Regions from separate parts of the Homo sapiens genome. Here regions 1, 3, 4, 5, 6 and 7 are each linked to region 2. The links are contacts of gene promoters, found by promoter capture Hi-C in human tissues and cell types (Jung and others, 2019). All regions are on one chromosome and are shown on one strand. Each heading gives the region's core, a stretch centred on a gene start or on the middle of the fragment in contact. The rest is flanking DNA. Distances are from core to core; before and after follow the strand shown. Region 1 overlaps COPS8-DT (COPS8 divergent transcript). Region 2 holds the start of ACKR3 (atypical chemokine receptor 3). Region 3 overlaps COPS8-DT (COPS8 divergent transcript). Region 4 overlaps COPS8-DT (COPS8 divergent transcript). Region 5 overlaps COPS8-DT (COPS8 divergent transcript). Region 6 overlaps COPS8-DT (COPS8 divergent transcript). Region 7 overlaps COPS8-DT (COPS8 divergent transcript).

The links. The method cuts DNA at HindIII sites, captures the fragments that hold promoters and counts their contacts. A contact is called where the count stands out against the background at its distance.
Region 1: a fragment that was not itself captured here is called in contact with the fragment with the promoter of ACKR3 in region 2 in 4 of the 25 tissues and cell types used here (aorta, bladder, liver and 1 more).
Region 3: a fragment that was not itself captured here is called in contact with the fragment with the promoter of ACKR3 in region 2 in 2 of the 25 tissues and cell types used here (dorsolateral prefrontal cortex and mesendoderm cells).
Region 4: a fragment that was not itself captured here is called in contact with the fragment with the promoter of ACKR3 in region 2 in 1 of the 25 tissues and cell types used here (lymphoblastoid cells).
Region 5: a fragment that was not itself captured here is called in contact with the fragment with the promoter of ACKR3 in region 2 in 6 of the 25 tissues and cell types used here (H1 embryonic stem cells, aorta, dorsolateral prefrontal cortex and 3 more).
Region 6: a fragment that was not itself captured here is called in contact with the fragment with the promoter of ACKR3 in region 2 in 7 of the 25 tissues and cell types used here (dorsolateral prefrontal cortex, heart right ventricle, mesenchymal stem cells and 4 more).
Region 7: a contact is called between a fragment that was not itself captured here and the fragment with the promoter of ACKR3 in region 2, in 1 of the 25 tissues and cell types used here (mesendoderm cells).

The regions. Positions count from the first base shown.
Region 1 is chr2:236,992,179-236,995,553 of GRCh38, reverse strand. All of the region lies in intron 1 of COPS8-DT (COPS8 divergent transcript), which reads left to right. Among named protein-coding and RNA genes, the nearest start is that of COPS8-DT, 92 kb to the left of the region's middle. The HindIII fragment of the contact is 7,647 bases long and covers 1-3,375 here.
Region 2 is chr2:236,567,981-236,571,320 of GRCh38, reverse strand. ACKR3 (atypical chemokine receptor 3) reads right to left here and starts at 1,496. Exons shown (of 2, transcript NM_020311.3): 1 at 1,397-1,496. RefSeq lists enhancers at 2,260-3,135, 3,136-3,340. The HindIII fragment of the contact is 7,550 bases long and covers 1-3,340 here.
Region 3 is chr2:236,963,273-236,966,557 of GRCh38, reverse strand. All of the region lies in intron 1 of COPS8-DT (COPS8 divergent transcript), which reads left to right. Among named protein-coding and RNA genes, the nearest start is that of COPS8-DT, 120 kb to the left of the region's middle. RefSeq lists an enhancer at 465-966. The HindIII fragment of the contact is 8,467 bases long and covers 1-3,285 here.
Region 4 is chr2:237,047,368-237,050,794 of GRCh38, reverse strand. All of the region lies in intron 1 of COPS8-DT (COPS8 divergent transcript), which reads left to right. LOC105373950 (a long non-coding RNA gene) reads right to left here. Exons shown (of 3, transcript XR_007088140.1): 1 at 1-3,427. LOC93463 (a long non-coding RNA gene) reads left to right here. Exons shown (of 7, transcript NR_135202.1): 6 at 615-1,383; 7 at 1,829-2,196. Among named protein-coding and RNA genes, the nearest start is that of COPS8-DT, 37 kb to the left of the region's middle. The HindIII fragment of the contact is 8,637 bases long and covers 1-3,427 here.
Region 5 is chr2:237,031,111-237,034,487 of GRCh38, reverse strand. The region is part of intron 1 of COPS8-DT (COPS8 divergent transcript); the gene reads left to right. Among named protein-coding and RNA genes, the nearest start is that of COPS8-DT, 53 kb to the left of the region's middle. The HindIII fragment of the contact is 3,540 bases long and covers 92-3,377 here.
Region 6 is chr2:237,013,985-237,017,555 of GRCh38, reverse strand. The region is part of intron 1 of COPS8-DT (COPS8 divergent transcript); the gene reads left to right. It also overlaps the pseudogene RNU6-1051P. Among named protein-coding and RNA genes, the nearest start is that of COPS8-DT, 70 kb to the left of the region's middle. The HindIII fragment of the contact is 6,899 bases long and covers 1-3,571 here.
Region 7 is chr2:236,935,265-236,939,083 of GRCh38, reverse strand. The region is part of intron 2 of COPS8-DT (COPS8 divergent transcript); the gene reads left to right. Among named protein-coding and RNA genes, the nearest start is that of COPS8-DT, 150 kb to the left of the region's middle. The HindIII fragment of the contact is 5,409 bases long and covers 1-3,819 here.

The DNA.
Region 1 (3,375 bases), core at 346-2,845, 420 kb before region 2:
AGAAAGGTAAAAGACCAATAACAGGCTACATGTTAACATCTCATCCTACATAAGAAAGCTAAAGGATGCAGTTTATACAAATGTTGATTTATATATATATATGTATATATATGCAAATCAAACTTAAGCATTACCGTTGTTAGTGAAGTAAACAGAAAATGCACAAATCATCAAGAAAAAAGAGAACAAGTACTGCCTGGCAATATGGCAAAAGGTAGGGAAGGAAATACATTGGAAGCATGAGGGAAACATAAATAAACATCATAAATTAAGATGACAGAATTAAGACCAAGCAAATCAGTTAATATGGCAAAGTAAATGTTTAAACTCTTCTGTTAAAAGACAACTCTTAGACTGAATAAAAGCAAGTATAAACTTTTATGTTCCTCTGAATGATCCTTTTAAAATGTAAGCATCCCTATAAAGGCAGGTTCTTGGAAAAAGAATTTCCTGGAAGTGCATGTCTTCTGACACCTAAAGGACAGAGAGAAAATGAGCAAAAGCCCATGAATTCACCCATCTGCTTTCACTCAGCCAGCATCTCCTGAATGACCCTGGACACTGCTTGGGTTGTGGAGAATACGAAGGTGAGCAAGACACTACGTCTGCTCTCGGGAGGTGCCATTCTGGAGAGGAGCACAGACGTGGGAAGAGGTGGTGACCCCATGAAGGACACATGCCGTGAGGGGAAGAATGGCAAGCACAGGGCCAGCCTCCCCCACCTCAAGCCAAGAAATCAGTTTGAAGCAGGATAGGGTCATTATATAATTGGTCATTTGTGTCTGTAGCTCTCATAGAAAAACTCAGATTAAATAACTAATCATGCCCACACACTCAAAATGTACCCCATTTTGTGTACATTTCAGTTGTTAATATTTTTTTTCAGCCGGGGTCACTTCCCTGTGTAGACGCACAGAGCCTGATTCTCCTGCACAGCTCTCCCGAGTGGGTGATGCTTGGGAACTGGTTGAACAGAAAAAGGCGCTGAGCTGCACAAGGGAACTTTTCCTACAGCAGCAGAGGAGTCAGAAGATGAAAATAAGGATACAGGAAATCACTGCACAGAGCAGGGAATTGAAGCATTACCCTGTCGGGGGCGGAGGTGGTCGTTGGAAGCGTGCAATTACTTTCAACTATTTTTATAACTGGTTAGCCGTCATGCCAGATCTGAGGCTTTCTTTAGTCAATAGCAGGGTTTTTACTAATTCTGTACATTTTCAGAGGCCTCAGAGACAATGTGAGACGATTGCAGCTTCTAACGTGTCTCACATCTGTGCAAGTGACTTAGCTTATTCCAGTTGGGGACTGGCTTAGGTTGGGCTCCCCCAGAAGCAGACCCCCAAACCAAGATGTGAGTGCAAGTCATGTATTTTAGAGGTGATCCTAGAGAGCCATGGCAAGTGAGTCGGGAAAGGGGTGGGGGAGGGTGGGAAACCAAGGCAGGGAGTTCTTGTAAGCAGGTCCCCACCACCCCCCCGCCCCGAGGGCATTCGGGCTCATCCGCTACATTCTGCTGGGGGAAGAGGAAGCTGGGTATTCACCCACTCGCTGCCTTCCATCATAGTTGAGAGCAGCCCTGGGATATTAACTCCCCAGCTTGGTCAGCCATGCCTGGCCCTGCAGCCATTGAACTCTTTCATGCAGCAGGCACAGGGGTTTGAAGGTCACAAGCCATGGGCATGTGTATGAATGGAGAGTACCTAGGTGATGCTGGTGGGGTGCTGGCAGCATCCATTAAACAGCTGTGCCTCCACTCTTCTCGCTATCCTCTGCTACTGCTTATCATTTCACATCTTTGTTAAATTAATGCTTGTATATATTTTTTAATTTTTAAAGATACTTTTATGTTGCTCAGGCTGGTCTCAAACTCCTGACTTCAAGTGATCCTCCTGTCTCAGCCTCCCAAAATGCTGGAATTACAGGCATGAGCCACTGCACCTGGCCAGTGCCTTGTGTCTTATTTCTGCTAAACTGCTGTGGCTTCACGCTATTACACTTTCCCTCCCTCCTTCCTTCCCCCTACTTTCTCTTTCCTGCCTGCAAACATTTAATGAATGACCACTCATTTCAGGCCCTGGTGATGAAAGATGACTGGACCTTTATGTGCACAGATTCTTCATGACACTGTATTGGCAAGGCTAGGAGACAGGCATGCATGAAATACTGTGGAACATGGAGCTAGTGTCTTCTAGCTTGAAAGTAACTGCCAGGGAACTGGATGAAGTGACTCCTGAAAAGGCAGTGCAAAAATGTGCGTCAAGCTCAGAGCATGCAAGGTGCTGGTTGAAGGTGACGTTTGATTATGACAGCAGGTGACAGGTGGGCTGATGTGTTATGAGGAGTCTCTGCTGCTGCAAGTTCCCATCACTTTCCCAGCAAAGAAGTGAGGAGATGAATGACCTCCGCTGTTGAGGATGGAGGAGGCTACAGTACATGCTCTATTGATGCATTTTCCAGGTGGAATTTGGGTCATAGCGTAAACAGTTTGTGAAAGCTTGAAGGAAGACATATGACAGACGACATGCTCTTCAAACAAAGTAAGGCCACTGTCACCTCTCCTTAAATCCCGTCCTTCCCAGAGAATGTTCCCTGAGTGTCTAATGTGTACATAACATATCATTCAGCCAGATGTTCAAGCCAACCTTTTGTGGACCTCTCTGTCATCCCTTGAACTCAAACTTCACTGTATATGATGAACCCTGGGGAGCCTATTATAATGATATTCCTAGGCCCTGTTCCAAACCTACTGAATCAGAATCTCCGCTGGTGGTCCCAGTACTCTCGAGTTTAGGCACTTCTTATGCAGCCAACTGTGCTTTCTCTGGGTTAGAGGAATGATACACACTCATTCATCCATCTATTTATGTATCTGCCCATCCATCCACCCATCCATTTATCCACCCATCCACCCATCCATCCATTTATCCATCCATCTATCCATCCATCCATCCATTCAACCATTTATCTATCCATTATCCATCCCCATCTGTCCATAAATTCATCCATTCGTCTATCCATTTATTCATTTAAAAATATTCATTGAGGACCTGCTATGTGCAATGCACAGTGCTAGGCAGTGGAGCTACCGAACAAAACAGACAATAACTCCTGCCGTCAGAAATGTCACTTTCTTGGGAGGGAGGCAGAGAAGAAAGTGCCAGATAGGTCAGGTGTGTGGTATGTCAACAGTAGTAAGTGTTATGGGAAACCTAAAGCAGGGGAGAGGGATGTGGAATGTAAAGGGGCAGCTGAAATTTTAACAACAGTGGTTGGAAAAAGTTCCTCTGAGAAGGTGACATTGCATTGAAGACTTAAGGCAAGACAGCCCACCATCAACATGCTCACTGGGGAGAGAATTCCCCACAGAGGGACCAG
Region 2 (3,340 bases), core at 247-2,746:
TGTGGCATTAAGCTCTGCAGTTGTGTGCACATTCAAGTGTTTATGGCAGAGACTGGGGAAAAAAGAGCAAATTGTTTCCAAGCTAGAGCTCCCATGTGCAACTTTGCTTTAGAAAAGACTTTCCATCTGGGGAAAGCTCATATTCTGATGAAAGAAGGGCAAGCAGTTTATCCATTTAAAATCTATGGAAAGTTAAAGCACAGAAACCAGCAGCCTCCACTTTCTTTGCTAGGCGTGCCTAGCTGATGTCCACATTTTTCCTGGAATAAATAAAGGGACACTAAAAGCAGCATCTGCCTTTAAAAAAGAAAAGAACAAAGTTACCATGTTGAGACTTTGCAGACTGAAGTTTCAGGGGATGTCACTGCACCAAATACATTCAAAGGGCTGTAAACCATTTAAGGAGGCTCTCTCCCACTTTTGAAACACTAAGTAATCCTGTTGTGAGCAAAAGGAAAGAAAGAAAGAAAGAAAGAGGAAGAGAGAAAGAGAGACAGCCAGTCTGACTTTTACAACTTCTCATTCTCCCTGGAAGTTACAAGTCTTGGCTAACCACCCATCCCTGACCTCACTCCAAAGTTCTCTCAGTCACTCCTTGAATCTTTGCACATGCCAACAAAATTGAACAAAATCCACATTTTACCTGAAGAGTATATTTAAATTGCAAAATAGTAGATTTGTGTGTGTGCTTCCCCCAACCCCAATTGAAGTTGGACTTAACACCTTCTAAGAGAACAATACTCAAATTAGATTAGCAAGCGTGCCATCAAGAGAAGAGAAGACCGGGCTGTGTTTAACATTCACGTTTATAGCTTCCGGACTTACAGACTCTGGTAAATCCCCCAAAGTACTGAATTCAAATACATCTTGGACTCACAAAGATTCTCAGCAGTTTTCTGCTCCATTTAAGGATGCCTCTTAATAAAGTGTTCATCATTCTGGAATTACGTATTTACTGCCAATTTTATCTGTTTCCAAACTGATATACTAGAAGCAAAACAGGTAAACAGTGGGTGCCAAGCTAATCCCCATGCCAAATTGGTCAGGCAGAATGGATAGTCTGTGTTCTTGCAAAGTTCCCCTGCTTACTGGAGCTTAAATAGCCACACAGCAAATAAACACCAGATTCCTAAATACACATGGAAATTTCCTTCTGCAAGTGACTTAAGAAAACTGCCCTTTGCTTTCTGAAGAGAAAGGTGAAGCCCTCCGAATTAGCAAAAGCACTTTGCAATGCAGCTGCGTGCAGCCTGGGTTTTCAGAAACCAGACCCGCAGACTCAAAAGCACCCATCTGAGCGATTTTAAAGAAGGCCTTTGAAAAGACCACTTGGCTTAAGAGCAGAAGCCGTGCCTTCTTTCCGAGCAGAGCTGCTGCCCGAGCACCGTTTCCTTACCTCCGGGCTGGCTGGGCTGGCTGGGCTGGCTGGGCTCGCTCGCCTTCCTGGCTGTGCTGTGCGCTGGCTCCCTTAGTGCTGAGCACTTTGCAACAACTGTGAGCTCTGCTGGCTGCAGACTTGCATTATATACACTGCAGAAAGGAGCCTCTAGCCTCTAGATGGCAGCTTTGTAACCCACATCTCTCTCTCCCCCGTGCCACCCCCATCCCACAGGCAGACACACACACACACACACCCCCCTCTTGTAAACCTCACTAGTCTGTTGTTTCCTGCACAAGTGTACTCTTGGGAAACCCCAGCCTTCTTTCATTTGCAAAATCTGGTGAAGCCACAAAGTCCAAACCCCACGGGGGGAAAACGTCAGCCAAAGACAAACTGCAAAGAAACCCTAGTGCTTGGCAAAATCATCAAATATTTATCTGGTCTCAGGTATATCTTGAATAATCCCATTAACACCAAGAGCTCCTGTGAATGCCTCTTCGCTCTAGGGAGGACTTTGTTCCCAAGACAAATTACTCTGAACTTCTGAACTTCGATGTTGATTTACTAAGCCTGGGTTTTCCTTGTTAATTCCTCCAAAACAGAAGTAACAGTTTTGGTATGACCAATGAATCGATGCCACACCGTATATCCCCAAAGTGGAGAAAAGAGTCTTTATAATAGATTATACTTGAATACTTTTATTTGTAAAGGACTTTAAGTACAAAATCCTTGAGACTCTAATCAAGATAGTATTCTACAGTGTCTGCCCAGTGCCAGACACGCATTAGGAAGATAATAAATGCCTTTTGATAATGTCTTTTTCTGAGATGAGTCTGGCAAACACTTTACTACAATTATTGCAATCTACATTCTTATTTGGATGCGTATTGCTAAAGTTCCCCCCACGGAGGAATTCAACCTAAAAATGTGATCCAGGTGATACTCATCTCCAATGCCCCATTTACAAAAATCGTCCATAAGATAGGGACCCAAAGGCCACCCGCCAGCCCATCCCATGTGCAATGCTCTGGCTTTCGTATTGCTTTCTGATCTCCTGGAGTTCTTAAAGAGCGGCTCAAGTGGAGTGTATGAAGGCACCAGCTGTATTCACGCCTTCTCCAGAGCTAAAACTTTTCGAGATTCTTTTTATACTTCTACTAAAAATAACAGCAGACGCTCGGTCCCAGCGCTGAATCTGGGGGACTGGGAGGTCAAAGTCTCACGTGGCTAGAAAGTCTCCGTGTGGAGAAAGCCCTTAACGAAAGAAATATTTTGTTTAGCTAAAAGCTTCACATTTTTCTCCTGAACTGGCTGCCCAGCGGGAGGCGAGGTGCACACCTGCTCTCCGGGGGCCTCCGGAGGGGTCGCCCTGGGGCCGGCCTTTCCCAGCCCGAGCGCAGCGTCCCGCCACCGCCTCTGCAGGGCGGCGCAATCACTCTTCGTGTCACATCGGCACCAAGGACATCTCCAGGCTCCCCAGAGACGCTGGAAAGGAAAACTGCCAGCGGCTGCGTCTACCCACACCCAAGATCTAGGCGAGACCTCGACTCTCCACAGCATACGTGTCCTGACTTTTTCTGTCCTGTTTCTTTCTTGTGGGGGACCCTGTGTCTGAGCCCGCTGGAAATGTACGGGGATCCCCTCTGGACTGCAGCTCGGTTTCCGCTTTCTGTGGCTGTAGCCGTGACTCCGGGGCCTGTCCTTCAGAGAACGCGCTCCGCATTGCAGAGCCTGCGCGCCCGGTGGAAACACAGAGTGGGTGTCAATCCGTTCTGAGCTAAGTGTACTGTCGCTGGAAGAAAGGCCACATGGGCCGGGGACCCCGGACAGGATGCTAACGTAGAGGAAGGAAAAGGCAACGCAGTTTTTTTAAAAAGTAGAACCCGCTTCGTGCGTCCGGGGCCAGAATCCACGAGGCCGCCTTGCAGCAGCCTGCGCCCTGCCCCGCCAGCCCCGGCC
Region 3 (3,285 bases), core at 138-2,637, 400 kb before region 2:
TTCCTGATGTCCTGTGATAGCAAATGTTGATGGGAATTTGAAGGATGGTCAATCATCATCTGCTGTCTAGTTTTTTGTTTTTTGTTTTTTTTAACAGTTTGTTAACTGTTTTTTTAACAGTCTCAGACAGAGCATTTTATCCTAAAAAAATGGGGAGCAGGTACCACATGTGACCAGCCTCAGCTCTGGAGGAACCCCAGAGAAAGAGACGGATGCCTATCTGTTCCTGACCCCCAAGGTCCCTCAGGATCTGCTGGGAGGGGTTAGTTGTGAGATGTAGCCCCAAGACTGCACAACTTAACCTGTGAAAGCATTTATTTAGAATTGAGCATTTGCATTTTGGGAGATGACTGCAAACACAGCTGTTTTCTTTTTTATGCAATTAAGATTGAGGCATCCTTAGTGACAATGGGTACCAGACTGGATGCCTATTGAAGCCACCCCTCCAATTGTAAAAAGGTATCCTCAGTGAGGAGGTGGTACTCACCTTCCTCTTGACTGCAAGCATTGACCTAAAAGTTCTGTCGGATCACAAAGGCCCAAGTTATGGGGAAACAGTAAGATACAATGGCCTCTGAACTGTGAAAGACTTTTCTTTCTAGCCTCTTTTTAGAGATGCATTTAAAGACAGCTTTGTGGGATCCAGCATTCATTCATTCATTCATTCATTCATTCATTCAAATGCAATGTTTATTGAGTTGCTACTGTATGCAGATCCTCACTGGGATCTGTGCTGAGCTTGAACAATGGGCTGCTTTCACATTCCAAGATCTCCCTTCACAATCCCCACAGGAAATACGAATATTCCACATTTGGGGTCTTTTCTTTTCTCTGGGAGTGCTGGGATCATGCTGTCAGTGTGTCTCCCATCTAGGTGGCTGCGTCTCAAACTTCTGTGATCCTTTTTTAAGATGTGAGAACAGGTGTTGTTTGTACAGCATTCGTGCCCGCTGGCAATGAGTCCTCATCAGCAGGTTACCTTGGGAAGGGGAGGATGCCAGGTCAAAAACACGGCCTCAGGTGCAGCCATCCCTGCAAGACAGTTCTCTCCAACCAGCATGGCTAACCGATGAGCCAGAGACACAGGGGTTGAAGGGGTCCAGCCTCTCCTACACTCCTAACAACGCTCTCTTTTTCCTAAGAACTTGAAGATGGAGCAAGAGATGCACAGGTGGCAGGGAAGGGACTGGGATGAACCGTACACCCACTGCCTGTGCAGTTTTTCTTAAATTAAACCTTTTACTTTGAGATAATGGAAGATTCCCATGCAATTGTAAGAAGTACTGTAGAGAGAGCCGAGGTACTCTTCGCCCAGTTTCCCCGCGTGGTATCATCTTGCATACCTATCCTACAGTGTCACAGCCAGGTAATTCCCCCATGCAGTTTTGTCTAGCAGACGTGATGAGCTTTCCTGAAGGCCTTTGTCCTGCCATACTTCTGGTTCCTATGGGCCTAACCCCTTCCTGTTCCTGGGTTTTCCTGCCAAGCTCAGATCTTTAATTCTTTTCTATTTCCCTACTTTTCCACTATGGATTCATTTTGGAAATTATAATGCTTAGTGACCACAAAAAAAGTTAAGCCAATGAGCCAGACAACCCTCGGTTGCCTTATACTTTTAATAAAAGACATAGTTCTGAAATTTTACTGGTCTTTTGCAGGTCATACTATCTTGCATTTGATAGGAACAATTTTATGGATAATTTCAGAGCTTATAGTCCAATAAAGATAGGGCAAAACATTTTAAGTTGCTTTTCAAATCCGTGATAAAGTGACAGTCAAGAAGAGCTGTACTGATGGTGTTGTATTGAACTTCTTGGGGTGGCCCTAGAGGAAGTCAAATAACATTACCCTGAGCCATCTGCTCAGTTTGATTCTCAGAGGATCTTCTTCAGTCTTGCTCAGACTGTGCTAAGAACAAACAGGGTGACTTTATTTTCTATCATACATATGCTGTCCAGAAGGATGGATGCCTTGTCCTGCCCCGTGATACCAACAGGCAGAGAGAGCCGTGCTGCTTGCCACATGTTTTGGAATCTCTTCCCCCAGCTGCAAGTGTTTCATAACATCTATTGACCTCTTCTGAGAATAAACACCCACTAGAGTTGGCTACGTCTCCTCTGAAAGAGGTATCCACCCCACGGTGTAATCCCACTTCGACAATAGGCTGTGCACAAACTCTGCAGTGTGCTTGAGGCATTTGTTGCCTGAGCCACATTAAGCCCAATGGGTTTTAATAGATCAATGTACACTGATGTGTCCCAAATAGAGGTGTGCCAGCCTCACACCCTGAAGGGGAGGAAGGTGCTGGACATCAAAAGAACCTACACGTGGCTGTCAAAGTGCACAATTCCTTCTATTTGTTCCAGAGATAGCTGAACAGATTTTTCCTACCATACCTTGCATTTCAAACCAGCTCTTGACATGGCTGAAAGATAAAGTGCATGAAAGAAAAGACAATGAATCTGAACTCTCACTCTGCTGTCATGAATGATGTCACACTAGCCTAAGAGCACGCTCAGGGCCCCTGGAAGTGGGAGAGCTCAGGAAGGCGAGCGCAGAGGGGAGCAGCCTGGGTCCATCCCACATGTCCCAGAGGCACAGGAGGACACCAACTGTGCAGGGATCAGAGGCCAGGGAGCCCATCAGGGTGAGGTGATGTGCTGGGGTGGGCCTCGCCTTAGCTGAGAATGCAGATGGGAATTAAGATGCATTGTGGCAATACAAAGAAAACATAAATGTGGCCCTGGACCCAGGGAAGATGACACTCACAGCCCCCTATGCAGGTCGAATACAGGTGGCATTGGGCCTCCAGACCTGGCCCCAAGGAAGGCAGAGAGAAAAGTCATCACCCAGCGTCCCTGGGGGTGCTGAAACAAGGAGACTTCACCCTGGCCCTCGTGGGGCAAAGGCCCTTGAGATGGAGATGTGCTTGTGGGCACTGAGCCGGGCTAACATCAGAGGCCTGTGTGTGCTGGGGTTTCCCTTCCCAAGGGGCACTCTCAGGTTTGAACCGAAAATCTCAGGAATCCTACGATAAAATGGTGCTGCTCTCAGACTACCCAGACAGTTTAGTCAGGATCTTCTAGCACATTTGTCTTGAGGGTTCGTGTAAGGTTTGATGACTCTCTTGCTTACAGGACAAGTTAGGATCCTGTAAATAAATAAATATATATATATATATGCCTATGCAGCTTTGCAGCCAATAACGGGGAAGTTCTCTTCTGACCTCAGGAATTGTTATGGGCTGAACTGTGTCCCCTCCAAAATTCACATGTTGAAGTCCTA
Region 4 (3,427 bases), core at 122-2,621, 480 kb before region 2:
GAAGAGGGTTTTCTTTTTCCCGAGGAAGACACCTCTGTGAACTGTTTAATTATGCAAATATGAGCAAGGATGGTGAGCAGGGCGGTGAGCCTGAAAGGCAAATTCAATATCTATTCTCCACAGTAGAAGCTGCTAATAACCTAAATAACAGATATTTTAAATTAAGAAATAATTGGGAGACATAAAAATATATAGTGAGTATTCTTTTAGTCAACCATTAGCTCTAAGTAATGCTAATATACTAACATTTTTACATGTTTGTTTGATGTTTTTATTTTAAATAAGACATTATAGATAAAGTTCAAACCCCATTTTATTATTCCCTAGTCCTCTCCTCCAATTTTCTCTTTCCTGATGCATCATCTCCCTTACATTGGCTTAGGTGTTTCTCATACATATGTTTATGTTTCTCTGTATAAAACTGGTATACAGGATACCTTTGCATGTTTTGAAATTATGTAAACAGTTTCAGACAGAATACACTTTTCTTCAAATTGGATTATTTTTACTCAATATTTAATGTCAAGGTCTGTGTTACTGCATATAATCCTAATTATTAATCTAGTTCACTTATGAAAGCTGCAATATTCTATCAAATGCACTTGCTTTTCCAGACAAAATGAAGTGATGGGGATTTTATTTACCTTCTACCCTGAAACAATCAAAACACAGACAAAATATGTGATATAATGTTTTCAAGTCACTGGACATCAAACAATGAAGGGCAGTGAACCCTCTGAGATAGCAAATGAACAATAATGAGGCCTCCAATTGCTCAGTCTGTCTTCCTTGATAGTGTTTCCAGGCTCCTGTTCAGAGAAGGGGGAACCCAGGCAGAGCTCAGTGGAGTCCCTGAGTTGGAGAGACACAACTGAGAGTATAGAGAAATCCCAGAGGCAGGAGCTCACAGGACAGAATTCCAGCAAGGAGAGTACTGCACAGGAAGAATGACCAGGAGGCATACAGAGGGTGCAGAGGGTCACCACTGAGGGTTCCAGTGAGTACTTATGATCACATGAAAACCTCCCAAGTTTGGGGAAGGAACTACTCAAAAAGACTGGAAGTAACTGGAGCTGACCAAGGCCTGAGAACAGTGCCTGTTTCTATTAGCCAGACTGAAGAACTTCATGATTCACAGGACATTTGGTTTGAATACACAGAGAGCCTTCCCTTAATCAGTGGGGAATAAGTAGAAATAGACTCAGCATTGTTATGGTCCTACCTAGAAAATCTTAAAAGCCAGACTCAAAAGGATCAATCTATTTCCAGTAACTTAATTGCATCCCAGAATAAAGCTCAATAATATTGAAAGGACTACAGCAACTTTCAGCACCCAACACCAGGCATTCAGGGAAGCAGAAGAATATAACCCTCAATGGAGAGGTCAGTCCATCAAAATTGACCCAGAACTGGCACCAATGTTAAAATTAGCAGACAAGGACATTAAAATATCAGTATAATAACTGTATTCTATATGTTCAAAAAGTTAAATAGAAGCATGGGAGATATAAAAATGACACAAGACAAACTCCTAGAGATGAAAAAAATACAATGTATGAGACAAAAAATAAATTATAGGATTAGCAACATATTAGACACTGCAGAAGAAAACTTGGTAAATTTTAAGATCTAGTAATAGAAACTATCTAAAATGAAACAAAGAGGGAAAAGTACAGAAAAAAACCTCCAGAACATCAATAAGCTGTGAATCATGTCAGGTGTTTAATATATATGTAATTGGAATCACCAAAGGGAAGGGGCCAGGAAAAATATTTATATAGATAATGGCCAAAATTTTCCAAGTTTGATGAACATTATAAACCTATAGATCCAATAAGCACAGAGAACCTTAAGTATAGGAAGATGTGAAGAAAATTACACGAAAGCACATACTAACCAAATTGGCTAAAACCAATGACTAAGAGAACATCTTAAAAGCAGTCATACAAAAAAGACAAAAGGAAAAGACAGACAAAATAAAGAGGAGGGAAGATAAGGGTGACAGCAGATTTCTCAGAAGAAACAATGCAAGTGAGAAGCCATTGGAGCTGCATTTTAAAAGTACTGAAAGAAAAAAATTGCCAATCTTGAATTCTGTTCCCAGTGAAAATATTTTTCAAAAACAAAGATGAATAAAGACTTTTTTCAGATTGGAAAAGCAATTCCATCAAGTGAATATATTATAATTTTTCTATTGATGGGCATTTAGGTGGTTTTTATTGTTGTTTGTTGGACAGCACTAGAATGAGCATCATACACACATTACCTTTTGTTCACATGAGAGTTTTTCTAGAATACGCATCCAAAGGGAGAATTGTTGGGTAAAAAGACATGCACATCTTCCGTTTTTGCCAAGGTACATACCAAGTGCCTGGAGAGTATGAGCACTGGTATTGTCAGATTAAAATGTTTACTTTTCTAATGGGCCTGTTTCTGGATGTTCTATTCTGTTGCACTGGTCTGTTTGTCTATCATGGGGCTAATATTAGGCTGTTTAAATTGTATAGTTTCACAATAGCAATTGCACAAGACCCTCTGCATCAGTTTGCTAGGGCTGCCATTATAAACCCTATTGTAGTAGGGCTGCCATAAATAACAGAAATTTTTAAACAGCAGACATCTATTTTCTCACACTTTTGGAGGCTAGAAGTTCAAGATCAAGGTGTTGGCTGGGTTGGCTTTTTTCTGAGGGCCATGAGGGTAGGATCTGTTCCAGGCCTCTCTTCTTAGCTTGTAGATGGCCTTCTCCCTGTGTCTTTACATCATCTCCTCTCTGTATGTGTCCGTTTGTGAATTCCTCTTCTTATAATATTCATTAATATTGGATTAGCCCCACCCCATCATGACCACAATTTTAACTTAACTTCTGCAAAGACCCTATCTCCAAATGCAGTTACATTCTGAGGTACTAGGGGTTAGAACTTCAACATAGGAAATTCGAGGGAATGCAATTCAGCCCATAACACCCTCTCTCTTAGTTTTTCATCAAAAGTGAATTTTAGAATCAGTTTCTCAAGTTTCACAAAGAAAAGCCCACCAGGACTGTAAGTGAGAATTGCATTGGATTGATTAGGGGAGAAATGACATATTTGTGACATTGTGCATTCCCTTTCATAAACATGCAGGTCTGTCATTTGTTCAGGGATTCTTTTATGTTTTTCAGTAAAGTTTAAATTCTACTCCTAATGGCCGTGCATTAATTTCTTCCCCCTGGCTTACTACCATAGACCTTCCATCCCTGGGGGGTTCACACAACCTTTTTGAGAAGCTCTTGTATTCAAACTTCTGGCTCCTGTATAAATTTTTCTATCCTTATTTCTCAAGACTCACTGCCTCAAACTCTTCACTTCAGCAACACCAAAATTCTTGAGGTTTCTCAAACATACCATGTTAAATCACACCTCTATGCTTTTTCATGTTCCCTCTG
Region 5 (3,377 bases), core at 612-3,111, 460 kb before region 2:
GATAGCCAAAATTAGGCACTAAAATCACTTCCATGTGTTTTCCCTCTTCCTGCCTGTGTTTGGAATTCCCACATACGTCATCTCTGTGCCTTCTAGAACTAAGACCCCCATGAAGAGTACTTGACTGTCCACCCATTTGAGGGCAGCTTTATTCAGAGGCCAACATAGAGAGTTAGAGGACAGATAAAGCAGTCCCTCAGAGTGATTACAATGCCTGCAGAAGTCGTTTTTCCCACAACCCTTGTGCTTTAATTAAAAGTGAGCAGCAAAGTTGCCAGTGCAGCATTAGGAACATAGTATGAAGTGAATGCAGAGAGTGAACTTATTGTAGTGTTGCTGGATTTTTAGAACAGGGGAAGCTAAACATGAAGTGAGTTTCATATCAGGGAAGAAACTTGACCAAAGAAAATTCCTAGTTAATTGCTTGCTATTTGCACTGTCTCTTAATGTCTTGCAACTGAGCTTTTGTTTCATATGTCTTTGTAAACTTCTGATGATAAATATCTCCATTAGAATATATTGTATTCTCCTAAAGACTCCAAATTATGGAGAAGCTGTTCTAAATTTTATAGAGCACACAGATCCCTTTGAGGTTAGCTATTTGAGAGCCTTCTGCATGATAATAGGTGCAGTTTGATTGAAAAATACCTACTGTCAAAAGCATATGTGAGGTCATAACTTGTTGATCTCAAAGTCCTGTGAGGACACATTTACATGACAGTCAAGCCTTGGTGCACAAGACTGTTAGTTAGTATGCAGGAGGCACTTGGCGCCTACAATGACTGCGAGACTCCTTGAAGAAGGATGGGGCTTGGAGTGTCCCCCAGGGCTCTGCTGCCCACAAATCAGGAACCATTGCTCCAGGAAACAGAAATTCTAGAATGTCTGGTTTCAGAGTTAATTTTCCATTAAGAGAGAGAATTTAATCTTCTGATGTTACCATACCCGTTTATTCATCATGATAACAATATGACCAAAGAAGTAAATATTGCTGCAAATCTCTTCTACTAGAGTGATGTGATACAGTTAAAATATGTTACCATTAAAAATGGCAATTACACAGTAAGCAGGCCAGATAGGAAGCTTGGGAAAGCTGATGCATTTTAAGCTTATAGCAGTTTACTAAGAACAAAAAGTTCACATAATTATTCTAAAAGTGGACATAATTTTGTTTCTTGCTTTGAACTTCCATAGGAGCCGTAGCTAGGATGTTGACTCAGGGTTCTATGAAGTGTTTTGGAGAAAAGTTAACAAAGTAGGAACAGGGTGCCTGTATCTGATGATCTGAATCAATTTTGGTACAGAGCTTAAAAAAGAGGGGAAATAGGCAACCAAAACCTCCACTGGGCTTTGTCAGGAGCGTCATCAGCCATGTATGGTTGGCATCCACAGAGAGAAACTCAATACAGGCACCCCAGGGGCCAACTGAGAGGGGCTCCTCCTGCTTTAGATGTGCAGCTGGGGAGGACGCTTTGTGTTCATTCATTCCATTCATTCAGCAGTCATTTGGGGTTACAGCAGTGAACACATCCAAGTTCCTGCCCTCGTGCCACCTAAGTTCTAGTGATGTGTGGGGGGGATGCGGATATACAGCAAGCAAATAAACAAGTTAGTGTAGATTCCACATCATGCTGTGTGTAGACTTCACATGGCATCATGTGTAGACCCCACATGGTGGTGTGTGTAGACCCCACATGGTGTTGTGTGTATACCCCATATAGTGTTGTGTGTGGACTCCACATGGTATTGTGTGTAGACTATATATGGTGTTCTGTGTAGACCCCACACAGTGTTGTGTGTATACCCCATATAGTGTTGTGTGTAGACTCCACATGGTGTTGTGTGTAGACTCCACATGGTGTTGTGTGTAGACTCCACCTGGTGTTGTGTGTAGACCCCACATGGTGTTGTGTGTATACCCCATATAGTGTTGTGTGTAGACTCCACCTGGTGTTGTGTGTATAACTGACACAGTGTTGTGTGTGGACCCCTCAAGGTGTTGTATGTAGTGTGTGCACTCCACATGGCATTGGTGCATGGAGAAAGGAAGCAGAGCAAGGAGAAGGTGACTTGGCACAGGCTGGTCCTAGGCACCTCCTGAGAAGGTGGCATTTGAGGAGAGACCTGTGTTGAGTAAAGGAGTAAGCCATGCAGCTCTGCAAGGGAGGGGAGTTTCAGGAAGGGGCTGCGCCATGTGCAAAGGCCCTGAGCTGGGAGCTCGGGGGCCCACAGGATGGAGCAGAGTGAGGGGAGTGGAGGGAGGTGAGTTAGAACGTGGGGTCAGAGGGGTCTCTGGGCCATGGTAACAAGCTTTCTGAGTGACATGGGGAGCCAGGAGAAGCTTTTAAATAGGAAACGATCTGACCTTTGTTTCAATAACACCACTTGGGCTGGAGGGGTGCACATGCTGTGTCCATGGCACTCACACAGCGAGACTTTCACTCTGTCTGGGAGGGAATTCAGACCATCCCTTTACAGAGTCATAGACATACCTCCAGCAACTCCTGCATCTCCTTTTCCCAGCCCAGAATCCATCCACGGGACTGCTGCCCTGGGGCCAGGACATGGAACAAGAGCCACCTCCCCTGCTGGCGGTGTGTGTGTGAGGGGGCCCTGCCAGCGAATTAAACCCAGGCTCAGCCTCTGGCTTTTGACTCCCTCCCTCCTTCCTCTTTCCCCATACCATGAGAAAATACAGCATAGGGGTTAAGAGAATGAGCCCAGGAGCCACGCTGCTCGAGTTTAAATTCCAACTCCACGAACGCTAGCCTGGCAAGTTACTTCATCTCTCACTGCTACAGTCTCCTCATCTGTGCGAGGGGTTTGATGCTATTCGCACTTCCCTCACAGGATTGTTAGGAGTTCAATGTGTCATCATATGCCCAGCATGGAGAAGACTACCTGGCTCACAAGAGTGCCACATGAGTGAATGCCACATGAGTGAGTGACATGGGAGTGAGTGCCACAGGAATGAGTGCCACATGAGTGAGTGCCACCTGGGTCTCAGTTCCTGCCTTTGTTGTTAATGTCAGCATCTCTGCCACAGGGATGGCTTTGCTTGGGTCTCCCTGCAATACTGCAGCCATCTCTGTGGGCCTAGGGTGAGGAGCCGGCCTTCTCTGTGGCCTAGGGTGAGGAGCCAGCCTTCTCTGTGGGCCCAGGGTGAGGGCTGGCCTTCTCTGTGGCCTAGGGTGAGGGCTGGCCTTCTCTGTGGGCCTAGGGTGAGGAGCTGGCCTTCTCTGTGGCCTAGGGTGAGGAGCCAGCCTTCTCTGTGGGCCTAGGATGAGGAGCTGGCCTTCTCTGTGGGCCCAGGGTGAGGAGCTGGCCTTCTCTGTGTGCCCAGGGTGTGGGCTGGCCTTCTCTGTGGCCTAGGGTGA
Region 6 (3,571 bases), core at 506-3,005, 450 kb before region 2:
GCCACAGGCTAGGGCTAAAGGAAGGCAGCACACGCCAGCTTGTGAGAATTCCTTTCCCTAGTGCAAGGTTTGGTTCAAATACCATCTTACAACCATATCCCAAGATTTAGAATTAAAGCAATATATGAGCTAAAGGGTAATGAGATCATCCCTATCATTGTTTCTATAATGTAGGCAGTTAATTTACTATACTACCTTATATTATAATTTTTTCTTATTCTTACCACCAGATTCTAAGCTCCTTGAAGGCAGGCACTTCTTCTAAATCATCCTTACGTAGCCATGATTCCCCCTCCCTCTCTCTCACTTCCAACTCTAATGCATGCATTCAGGCTTTCTTCTGGTGACACATTCAAAAAATGTTTGCTGAGCCCCTATTAGGGACTAGAAGTGACAACAAGAGGACAAGGCTCAGCTCCGTGGACCTTGCGGCTCGGCACAAGGCAGGTGCCCCGAAGCTCTGCTGCTAAATCTGCCTGCTGGACTCATGGCATCCTACTCCTAAGGCCTGGCCAGTGGTGACTTGGGCTGTGGCCGAAGCTGAGTGAGCATTAGGGACCAGCACTGGGTGTAGAGCAGCCTTCCGTGGCAGGGCCTTAGTGAGAGGAACTCAGAAGAGATGCTAGCAGAAGGTGGGAGGTGATTGAAATGCCAGAGACTCAGGGGGTCCCAGGGACTAGTTTGCTAGCAGAGGTGGTTGCATTTTCTCAAATTTCTACAAGTTTCTGGAGTAAGCTTGGAAAGCCAGGCAGCTTCTGATGAGTAAGCAGAGGCTGCCACCGCACAATGTGGGGACTCTAACTCCCGCCGGTCAGCGCAGAGGGAATGCCCGTCTGTCCTGCGGTGCAATGATCAAAGGCTTCCTTCATGGAATTCTCCCCCTGCATTCCTGCTTTCTTGTGAGAATTAGTTAGACATTTCACCTTAACTTCACTTATCGGAAAAATTGAAAGGATAAGACTAAATTATTTTGTATCTATTGAGCTAATGTTTGCATTTCTAACTTCCTAAATCGTCTTACCTAGGCTGCTTGAAAGAAGTGTGTCCTAGACTTAGAATAATGTTTAATTTTTAGAAGATGCCATTCTCTTTCCATGGAAGGTCAGTAATTCCAAAGAAGTCAATATAACATTATCCAGTCCTTCTGTTAACATTTTGATTGCTTTCTTTGTCAGAGTCTTCTTGTCTCAATGGTGAAAGGTATAAACGTTTCAACAGCTGTGGAAGAAATGTTTATTACCCTTCAGTTAGGCAAAGAGATCCGTCTTCCCCAAAACAATGCTTGGGGTTAAAGACTTGCCTCCCCTTTGCAATTTAGTTTGCACCTTTATTTCTGAGAATGACTTCAATTCAGGCAGTTGATAAATCAAGGATCTGACTACAAGAAAACCCCCTCCTTCTTGTCCTCTGTGGCCAAAAAGGATGGTGTTCTGGTTTGTGGTGGTTGTTTTGGGAATGAGTGTTGTTTGATTTTCCTGTAGAGGTTTCTCAAAGAAGCTGACTTGATTTTTCCAGGTGCCCCAGTCTGTTACATCACTCCAAGGCATCAAGAACAGCTCAAAACCTCTATACTGCTGGAGATGGCAAGTTAGGGTAGAAATCCCCCTGGTAGAAAATCAAATAGCTTCAGGTTCCTTGAGGTTCTCACCTTTTGCCTCAATCTTCTTTACCTGTTAGTTCCTTCCAGTATGGGAAAACCCCTGGAGACACTGCAATGCCAGTGGCACCAGGAGACCCCATGTGAGGGCCATTCTCATTAGGAGCAGTCAGACCCCCTTGGCAGTGCCACTTTCATCCCGTATCCCATGCTTGGAATCCTTCCAGTCTCCCCAGTGTCAGTGGGACAAAGTGGAAACACTAGAGTCCTCCCTGGGAAGGCACAGGTGACTCCAGCCAAGTGCTCTCTCTCCCACCTTCCAGCCTCTCTGGTAGACATGTCCTGTTCCTGGCGACCTCGGGCATCTGGGCTTTCCATGTTCTGTGCTGGCAATGGCCTCCAGTGGCCTCCGGGGCCCTGCCCTGTGAACATCTCTGACTATGACCCACACTGCAGAGCCCAGCCTCTGTCACACACTGAATGGCCCAACCACCTGTGCACACACTTTTTCTGCACCTCCCTAAGTTAATTATTATGTACTCCATAAAGGGATCTTGGAGATCATGTAGTCTGACACCCCATTTAGTAGGCAAGAATATCGAGACTTAACAGGCAAAAGAGTTAATTCACATAGAACCCAAGGGTCCTGGTGTATACTTGAGCAGTACATACACTAAAATTGGAACAATGCAGAGAAGATGAGCACGGCCCCTGCACAGGATAACATACAAATTCATGAAGCATTCCATCTTTTTATGTTTATTCCAATAATGTTCATGATAGCAAAGTCAGGAAATCAACCTAAGTGTCCATTAATAGATGAGTGGATAAAGAATATGCGGGGCCGGGCGCAGTGGCTCATGCCTGTAATCCCAGCACTTTGGGAGGCTGAGGCAGGTGGATCACCTGAGGTCAGGAGTTTGAGATCAGCCCGGCCAACATGGCGAAACTCCTTCTAAAAATAGAAAGAAAATTAGCCGGGTGTGGTGGTGCACACCTGTAGTCCCAGCTACTTGGGAAGCCGAGGCATGAGAATGGCGTGAACCCGGAAGTGGAGGTTGCAGTGAGCTGAGATTGCACCACTGTACTCCAGCCTGGGTGACAGAGCGAGACTGTCTCAAAAAAAAAAAAAAAAAGGAAAAAGAAAAAGAATATGTGGTGTATATATTCAGCCATAAAAGAGAATGGAATCATGTGTTTTGCAGCAACATGGATGGAACTGGAGGCCATTCTCCTAAGTGAAATAACTCAGAAACAGAAAGTCAAATATCATATGTTCTCACTTAGAAGTGGGAGCTAAACAGTGGGCCCGCATGGACATACAGGGGAATCCTTGGAGACTTCAGAAGGTGGGGAGGATGGGAAGTCGGTAAGGGCTGAAAAATTACCTGTTGGGACCAGTGTTCATTATTTGGGCAGTGGGTACACTAAAAGCCTAGACGTTACCACTATGCAACGTAGACATGTAACAGAACTACCTTCCTACCCCCGAGATCCATAAGAATAAAAAAAATACAGTGGGGAAAAAAGGAGCCCCAGGGTCATTTCTACTACACTGCATTGTCTTTTATTTTGTTGTCTTATCAGCCTTTTTTTTTTTTTTTTTTTGAGATGAAGTCTCACTCTGTTGCCCAGGCTGGAGTGCAGTGGTGTGATCTTGGCTCACTGCAACCTCCGCCTCCCAGGCTCAAGCGATTCTCCTGCCTCAGCCTCCTGAGTACCTGGGATTATAGGCGCATGCCACTACCCTGCCACTAATTTTTATATTTTTAGTGGAGACAGAGTTTCACTGTGTTGACCAGGCTGGTCTTGAACTCCTGACTTCAAATGATCCACCCACCTCATCCTCCCAAAGTGCTGGGATTACCTGCATGAGACACCACACCCGGCCCTCTTATCAGCTTTTGTTGCCCATCTGTGAATCTGTCTGATTTCTCCAACCAGATTCTCAGCCCTTTGAGAATAACTATGTCT
Region 7 (3,819 bases), core at 288-2,787, 370 kb before region 2:
TTAGAGCTGGAAACATCAAACTCATGTTTAGCCTCATATAGATACAGATGGATCAATGGAGAAATAAGTATAGGTATGCATATATGTACACATACATTTCTAAGCGCTTTTGGCTGCAAGGGCCTAGAAGCAATGACATCCCAGTGGTATCAAGCATGCCTAGCACCCACATCTTGGTTTCTAATATCACTTTCCAGTAAAAGGAATCAGGGCTCCCTGGGAGAATTGACCGATTCTAGGGCTGGGGCAAGAAATAAACCTGTTGAGCCTGGAGTATCCTGTAGTCAGAAAGTAAGGAAAGGCTCAAAAAAGACAACTTGTGAATACTGAATAATAGTGTGTCCTTGTTGGTTAGTTGGTTGTGACAAATGCATGATTCCAATGTAAGATATTAACAGTAGAGGAAAATGGGTTCAGGGTAGATGGGAACCCTTGGTACTATCTTTGCAATGTTTCTGTAAATCTAAAACTATTCTAAAATAAAACGCTTGATTTTTAAGAAGTCTCAAATGACACTCCTTGCCCTTCTCTAAAACCGCATCCACTCTCTCACCCTTGATCACTTTGCTCCCACCACAGTGGTCACCTTTCCTTTGCACCTGCCTTTATCATCCCATGTCTCCTGTGCTTCCAGGACTTTCTGTGTGCTGCTCCCTCTGGCCAAAATGTGCTTCCTTCTGTGCCTGGCTCCTCCCACATCAGGGCTTAGCTGAAATTTCTCTCTCTCTCTGGGGATGGGTTCCCAGCCAGCCTTGCCAAAGTGGTTTCCTCCCACTGTCCAATGCCGCCACCACACCCACACCACACACATGCACACACACCCACACATGCACACTCTCTCCTGGTCCTCTTTCACACAACCTTGTTTATATTTTTCACTGCGTTTCCATTGTGTTTCATAATCCAGCTCATGTGTCTCCCCAGGAAGAGTTTCTGATCCGTGAAGAAGATGTGTTCCAACCATCACTGACTGCCCAACATCTAGTTCAGTGCCTGGCACACAGTAGGTGCTTAGTATATATTTGCTGGAATAAATAGATGAGGGTACTAGTTAATTAACTTTAAGCCAGGCACGATCGCTCATGTCTGTAATCCTAGCACTTTGGGAGGCCAAAGTGGGCAGATCACTTAAGGCCAGGAGTTTGGGACCAGCCTGACCAACATGGTGAAACCCCATCTCTACTAAAAATACAAAAATTAGCCGGGCATGATGGCGCATGGCCTATAATCCCAGCTACTCAGGAGGCTGAGGCAGGAGAATTGCTTGAACCCAGGAGGCAAATGTTGCAGTGAGCCAAGATCCCACCACTGTACTCCATCCTGGGTGACAGAGTGAGACTCTGTCTCAAAAAAAAAAAATTAATTAACTTTATGCTATGACAGTCAGTTCCACATGAAACTGTGTATCACAGGCTCTCTTCATAGGCAGGTGATAAAGGCAGGTGCAATGGAAAGGTGGCCACTGTGGTGGGACCAAAGTGATCAAGGGTGAGAGAGTGGATGCGGTTATAGAGAAAGGCAAGTGAGGACAATACCCACACCCCGCTGGCATCATGAAGCTTTGGGGCAGCATGTTTGGCACCTGTCTGACTCCAGGCAGGACATGATCTCTGCTATCAGGGATTAGCAAACCTGAAATTGTCATGTGATCAAAATGCACACTGACAGCACACAGAGAAACAGAACTTTTCACACTTCACTGAAATAAGTCCCATATTTTTTCCCAGAAGCTTAAAATCAAATAAAAACCTCCAGTACACTAAGCGTATGGCAACGTGATATAGCCCAACCGCCATGTCACTATTGTGTCATGGTCAAAATGAAAGAGATGTGGGATATGAAGGGTGTAAATTAAAGGCAACAAATGAAAACAATAGTTTGAAGGGCATCATATGATCAAATAATATAAAAACGGGCTTTTATTAAGCAATAGATTAGTAAATGGCAGTAAAATATGTCAATTTGAGTCTGCTCTGCTTCCACATGAAAATCCATTGAAAAAAAGAACGAAGCTCATGTAGCATTGGGATTCAAAGTGGATTCTCTATTGCTGCATTGCAGAGTCTATGATGTTGCTTGAAAAATAATGACATCAACAAGGACACCAAGCCCTCCACCTGGGTAGACAGCCCAGGACTTTACATGGGCAAAATTTCACCTTTAAGTTTATATTCTATGCAAATGTTGAAACATAGGGACTTTTCATATGTCCTGGCTTTAGGATTGGCTTGGATTCTGGTTAGGTTCGCCTTCAGGAGAGTGCAGGAAGGAGCCCTCCTGGAAAAGTGTCGTCTCCCACCGGACAATAAAGCTGCCTGGCTCCCGTCCTGGGAGAAGGACAAGCTCCGAGTTTTGGGAGGAAACCCTGGGGGTGGCCAGCAGCTCTGCCCCTCTCTGGTTGGTCCTTTGGAGGAGTAGATGCTTCAGTGGCTCAGAGGGAAGTGTCTGTTTCTTCCCCGTGCACCCTCGGGAGGAGGCCAAGTGGATCAGGCAGGGGCACATCTTGGCTCCAACCTTTCCAGAATCATTTCCACAAAACTCCTGGGGGAGGGGAACCAGGCTAGGGGCCTGCATGGGCTCTCCATACCCTAGCCCTGCCTCTTGTCATTCCCAGATGAGGAAGATGGGCAAAGTCTTCTGGAATGGATCAGTCTCCCATCCTGGGTGTTTGATTCTGCCCACCAGGTAACAGAGGCACCCGGAGGTGGTGCCGAAGTGGGCCAGGCACCCCAGGTCCTGCAGGGGCCCCTTATTCCTCACCAGACCCTGTGCTCCCTGCTGTCAGGGACAGACACTCCCTACTTCCTGTGGAATGAAATGGGAGTGCTCACAAGTTAGCTACCTTGGGGAGGTCCCAGCGTCACTGTGTCAGTGGTGCTTTGCTGCCTGTCAGGTGTATTGGAAAGTCAGATTACACTGCTTTCAAAAAATGCTTCAACAGAAACTGCACCTGGAATGTGAGTGGATATATGTCAGTCAGCAGCAGGTTGAACCATGTTTGCTGTGAGGATGTCCTTACTGCTGCCAGCGTTCGGTTCTCCCTTCCCCAGCACCACTGCACTCAGCGGACGACGTCTTGTCCAGTAGGGCATCCTCCTCAGGCCTTTGCAGGTGTCTGTGCCAATGGGGACTCCTGGGCACTGAAGACCCACTTGTGAGCCCTGCAGCCACCTGCCAAGTGCAGAAACTCTGGCCCTCTCAAACACTCACCCAAGGATGCCTGGGAGCCCAGTGTTGTCCAAGCCTGGTTGCTAAGAGTTCCTGCAGGTACTTCTGCTCTGGTGTGCAGCGCTGAGATCCACTGCCAGGAAGACCTAAAGCCCAGAACCTTGTGGCTGCTGTGGGGAAGACGCTGCCACCTCCAGTGCTGCTGGCTGCAGGAGCTCCTCAAAGAGCCCTGCTGTCCTCAAGTCCCCAAAGCTGCACTGTGTTCTCAGAGGAAATGGGGAGGATGCCCTCTCCACTCAGCCACTCTTATCTATGGGCTGTACTGCCTGTCTGACAGGGACCCTCCTCCTTCCCACAGCCTCTCTCCATGGGACTCCCAGAGCAGGGTACATTTCTGTACCCCTTCCCCCCACCAGCATGCATGCAAGAGACGCTTTCCTCTTCATCCTTAGCCAGCCCCCCAAACCTCCTCCATGACATTCTGCATCCATACTGTGTGGTGTGAGACTCACTCTGCTCCATACTACATTAGTTGAGGGCAGGGACAGTCTCTGCTGCTCTCAAGCCTAGCACAGTGCTGGCTCAGAGAAGGGTCTTCGTCAATCTCCTCTTAAGGCACAACTAACTGGACATGTCCTGGGCTGGACCCAC